2 separate regions of the Homo sapiens genome follow, and region 1 is linked to region 2. The links are contacts of gene promoters, found by promoter capture Hi-C in human tissues and cell types (Jung and others, 2019). All regions are on one chromosome and are shown on one strand. Each heading gives the region's core, a stretch centred on a gene start or on the middle of the fragment in contact. The rest is flanking DNA. Distances are from core to core; before and after follow the strand shown. Region 1 overlaps ANTXR1 (ANTXR cell adhesion molecule 1). Region 2 holds the start of ANTXR1 (ANTXR cell adhesion molecule 1).

Evidence for each region. Contacts are between HindIII fragments. The study calls those that stand out against the background at their distance.
Region 1: a contact is called between a fragment that was not itself captured here and the fragment with the promoter of ANTXR1 in region 2, in 3 of the 25 tissues and cell types used here (H1 embryonic stem cells, adrenal gland and aorta).

Annotation. Positions count from the first base shown.
Region 1 is chr2:69,171,316-69,174,015 of GRCh38, reverse strand. The region is part of intron 14 of ANTXR1 (ANTXR cell adhesion molecule 1); the gene reads right to left. Among named protein-coding and RNA genes, the nearest start is that of MIR3126, 69 kb to the right of the region's middle. RefSeq lists an enhancer at 2,265-2,559. The HindIII fragment of the contact is 3,578 bases long and covers 1-2,700 here.
Region 2 is chr2:69,011,806-69,014,505 of GRCh38, reverse strand. It overlaps ANTXR1 (ANTXR cell adhesion molecule 1), which reads right to left and starts at 1,327. Exons shown (of 18, transcript NM_032208.3): 1 at 855-1,327. The coding sequence starts at 1,006. The HindIII fragment of the contact is 10,036 bases long and covers 1-2,700 here.

The DNA of each region.
Region 1 (2,700 bases), core at 154-2,653, 160 kb before region 2:
GGCTCCAGGAAAGGAATGTTTTGTTTTTCATTGCAAATAAAATGTACTAGTCATCTGTCCAGCCCAGGTCTGGCCAAGGCAGTGTGATTAAGGAAGAAAATGGCAGGTGTTTCCAGAGCTATGCCTTTGATAGAGTGAGACAGGACATGGGAAAGGAAGCATCTTCTCTTTCCAGTACATTTACTTCATATGTAGGTCTGTGTGTGTCTGAGACATGGAGCTGCTTGGGGCTAAGCCATAACCCACTTTCCATTCAGTCATGGGGCTTCCTGCTATCTATTGCCTTTCAAATATGCTTGATATTGGGAACGATAGGATCTTTGAGAGCCTGTAAAAGTGGCAGATGTTGGAAGAATATGGTATGGATTCCTGGGTGTAGCTTTTATTTTGATAGTATTTAATGAGACCGAAGTTTAGTTTCTGAAACAATACTATTTCAGAGAGGCCACAGGGCCTGCACCAGGTCCATTCCTCCTTCTGAGGGGAGCTATTCTCACCATGGCCACGGGGCTTACTAGGAAGCTTCTCTTTGGCCAGATGTGACCCAAGAGCACCAGTCTGTTGGTTGGCTGTGAGCTGTGACTGATGATCTATGGTCTGGAGTGAAAAGATGAGCTGGACCAAGTATTTTCCCCTATTGGGAACTGAAAGATGGAAACTGAGAGACTCAGCTATAAGCACTGGGGGCAGATGGTGAAATGAAGACTAGAAATATCAGATGGAGTCAGGAGAGAGGGCTCTGTACAAACCAGAGTTACAAGGGCAGAGAGGCGGCCAGTAAGAGAAGGCAGAAGGGAATAAATTCCCAGAGAGAAGCAGAGCTGCTAGCAGTGAAATCGAAAGCCCATGAGGGTGGTGTCTAGAGCTGCCTCAGTTCTTTCCCCAGCCACAGTCTACCTGAGTTCTTTCATCTTGGACTAGCTTGAACTGGTCTCTGTTTTTTGCAGGCGAATGAGGCTGATAAAAACTCAAATATGGTCATAAAATCCATGGAAGGTGATTACATGCAGAACAAAACCGTCACATGAAGTGCTCCATTACTGCATTCTCCCACGAACTGCCAGTTATTTGGAGTAACTGGAGAGTTAGGGAGGGATCCCCACTGGTGCCACTTGAGAAGATTCTTAACCCAGGAAATGTCCCTCTTAGTTGTTAAAACTGAGCTTCCTTGCTTCTATTGAGCTCTTCAAGTTTCAAGTAATTTCTCTTTGTACCCTCTTCATACAAGTGTGTCACCGTTGGTTACATAGAATCTCAGCATATAGTTCCTTTTTCCATTCTGAATTTTTATATTTTCTATTAAAAAGGTCACTGAGAGCTTATTATAAAGTTATCTTCATTCTCTAAGTTTAGTTATTTAAATAGTAGACATGCCTCTCTCAGAATATGATGTTGATAGAGCTGATGAAAGTTGGGATAAATAATACTGAAGGTCTTCATATATACGGCAGAGAGTGTTTGATTTCATATAGCTATTTATTGAATGTTAGACACTGGGATTTGAATACAGGGAACTAGAGGAAAAGACTGTCTAGATTGAGACTATGATTTTCAGAGCATTGTATAAAATACGTTGCACGGGCTGTGTTAGGTTATCTGTTTCTGTGGGATTTCTTTCTTTCTTCTTCTTGTTATTTTATTTTATTTTCCTGCCAAAATACATTAGGAAGGAGATTAGGTGGCCTAACTCACAGGGCCAACACACACGCTAAGGCAATCAGCACATGCCAAAAAGCGCCTGATGCTAAAAAGTACAATGTTTAAATTTTTATTGCCTAGGTCTCCAGTTTGGGTAGTTTCTTGATTTATTTCTGACGTCATATTTAATTGATTAAGTCAGAGGGTTTCAAAGGGAAATGGAGGGGAGGGGATCTAGACTCCAGGAAGGGAATGTTTTGTTTTTCATCAGCCAATGAAATGTACTAGTCATCTGTCCAGCTCACGTCTGACCAAGTATAATCAACTGCAGGTGTTCACGTGAGTTATCCCTTTGATAGAGTGACAGGGGACAGGTGAGGAAGCTTCAGCCCAAAAACTCCTTTAAGCCTAACATAACCCTTTAGATTCAAGCATTCTGAGGTTGTCATTCTGTTTGGGAAATGAAGTCAGCTTTCTTTGGGTGTAACTACAACTTTTATGAAACAGAAAAAACTCAACTACTTCTCTTCCTTGCTTTTAGCTATCCTTCCTAGATGGTTTTCTAGTTTGGGCTTTTTTACTTGGCTCCAAAATTGTGTTGCTGGGTCCTTCATCCTAAAAGTCCCTGCTGAGCTTGTACTGTGTGTGCAACCCTAGGCTAGATGTTGGATCTGGGGTAAGTCAGAGCCCAGTCTTAACCTACATCCCCAGGTGCACTTTGGCCACTATGGCTGCCACGTCACCTTCTAAAGGCAAATACAGAGCAAGAGCCAAAAGAAAAAGCCACAACCCTTCTAACTGAACACAACAAGGGAGGGAATGTTATTTGCCTCCAGGCAAACAAAGTCCTAATAAGGGAGCTCCTTGCTCTATTTTATTTTTTATGTTTTGGAAGTCTAAGAGATAGCTGCACATAACAGAAGCAAAGCCAATTGCAGTCGTGGAACTAGCCACGGTACTTTCTCTTGAAGGATTAAGGAAAGGTTTTAATGTATGTAAAGAAGGTTTTTTCTTCTTCTTTGCACAGCAATGTAATTTCCTCCCTTGATTTCTGGGCAGAAA
Region 2 (2,700 bases), core at 78-2,577:
TCCTAAAGCCTAACCACTTTTTGCAAGGAAACCAGGGCTCCTGCACCTCCCTGGTAGCCCACCAGTCAAATGGCCAAGAGCTTGAATTCACTACATCTGGGGTACTCAAGTCGAAGGGGAGGGACATTTGGCAATGTCTGGAGGCATTTTTAGTTGTCACCACTAATAAGGAAGGAGTGGGGGGCGGGGGATGTTACTGGCATCCAGTGGGCAGAGGCCAAGGATGCTGCTAAACATCCTACAACGCGCAGGACAGCCCCCACCACAAAGAATTACCAGGTTTCAATCTCAGAAGTGCCAAGGTTAAGAAACCCTGCCTTTCATTCTCACTCAGTGCCCGGTGAGAAGTATGCATTACATGATTAGGAGCAAAGATAATGCCTTCCGTGGGACAGCGTTTCAAAACAAAACAAAAAAACAAAAACAAAAACAAAATGCGACGATTGGCTTTAAAATGCCCAAGCCTCTAACTTTAGGAGTGCCTGTGCCTGCAAGTTCTGCCTTTGGTAAGCAAGCCTTTCCCACCAACACGGGAGGGAGTCACAGAAACTCAGCAAGACAATAGCATCCTCCAAGCCCCTTGCCTGCTCCTGGGACACAGAAAGCAAGACAGAAAAGAAGTCTGTCCCCTTCCGAGCAAGCGGCGTCGCCTCGGCTGCGGGCTCTGGAGCCGAGGCTGGGAGGAGCGCGCCCCAACAAAGGCGCAGCACTCCGCCGCCGCCTGCCGCGCGGTCCCTCTGTGGCCCTGGAGATGCGCTCCTGTCCCCAGGCGACCCTGCCAACGAGCCCGGCCCGGGGCGAAAGCGTTTTCGCCCGCTTAGCCTGGGGTGGGGGGGACAACTCGCGGCACTTACTTGTCCAAAATGAAGTACAGGTCAAATCCGCCGTAGCAGGCTGGACCCCCATCCTCCCTGCGTCCCCCTTGCCCGGCGCAGATGAGCACCAGAGTGGCCAAAGAGAGCCACTGGAAGCCGATGCCGAGGGCTCTCCGCTCCGCCGTGGCCATGGCCCGCAGCCCGGGGAGAGCAGGGTCCGCTCCTTCCCACGCTCCGCGAACTCGCCACGACCCTCAGGGACGCGCCATCCGCGGGCCCTTCCTCGCGGGTCCTTTATTCCCCCTCGCTCCCTCGCAACTCCCCGGAAGCAATTGTCTGGAGGAGTTCAAGGTTTCCCCTCTGGTTTCCGCTCCGATGCTGTTTCTGGGTTTCGGGTTTCAAGGATCCCAATCCTGTCCTCCGCTTCTTTTAAAGGGGAGGGCTGCCTCGGTCCGGGGCCGCCGGGCAGCTCCCGAGGCCGCGCCGAGCTTTTGCAATGGAAGGAGTTCCGTCCCGACGGTTCTTTGTCCCAGATTTTAAATATGATGGGGGGGGGGGGGGGTTTCAAATTGTTCTTGGTGGGGGCAGTGCTTTGCCTTCTCTCCTTCCTCTCTGCCCCCCTTTCGCGTTCTTACGGGGAAGAAAGTTCAAAGGCTGCCACCTTGTGGACAAAGGCGGCGAAAGCACGCGTGGGACCCGCGGGAGTGCGTCGGGGGCGGGGGCGCTTCCAGGCTTCGCGTATAAATTTCCTTGTCCTTACCATTCTCATGTGAGCTGTGCGTGTTTTCTTACTCCTTCCTTCTTCCCACGCACTTTCCCTTTCTTTTTCCGTGACCGCCTCTCCATTCTCTGTAGTCCTTCTATTCCTTCTTTTCCTTCCCTATCCTGCATCTTTTGATAAGGTCACTAAACATTGGATGAGAATTTGTTTCCTCCAACCACGGTGACTCCGGCTCCCCAGGCTAGGACCTTTGCAAACAAACCATTGTGCAGATGAAGTAGGGGAAAAACGGGACCTTTGTGGTATGAGTCATCAGAGTGACCTTACATGGTCTTAGTCTGTCTGGACCATAAAAGAGACTGTTGGGGTCCGGTCTGAAACCATCACAAACAACCCCACAGAGTGTGGTACTTAGGGCTGCTCCCGGCATGGAACAGCTGAGCCTTCTAGATGGCCACCATCTCCATCTTTTAGGGATTCTATGATAATAGTTCTTCTTTTCAGCCTGTGAACTTTGACATTTTCTCTCTATCTTTGATTTAGGATGGAGGAAGTAAACAGCTTACAAGAGTAGAGACGCTCCAAGCAGTTTGGAATTGGCAGGGAAGTTCCGTGCTAGCCTCTCTAAATTGGAGAATCAGCCTCTGAGCCCCAGTTCCGAGTGGTACCCCAGTTCTAGCTTCCTATTGTCTTCCGCTCTGGGAGCCCTCAGTGCATATGCATGTACTGTTTTCCCAGGATTCTTCCTCCAGACACACATATTCCCCTCCACTTGTGTGCCTCCCAGACCCTTATACCCCAATGTGACAGTCCATGGTGGTTTCCCCCAACATGTGTACCATGGAATCTTAGTGTCTTGGAATGCTCCACTAACCAATAATCATGTTGTCAAATCAGCCTTGAAGATTTGTCATGCGTAGCACTGACCTGCCTCCAAAATGAACCCAGTGTTTCTCACCTCCTGGAATTCACACCCCTTCCACCTTGGGTGAGACTGACCTGTGAGTAATTAAGAAGATGGTGTGTGGCTTCTGAGGATAGGCCATGAGAGATGTTGTGGTTTTTCCCTTCTCTCTTGGATCACTCACTGTAGGAGAGCCCACTGCCATGTCGTGAGAACACACAAGCAGCCCCAAGGAGGGGTCCGTGTGGTAAGGAACTGAG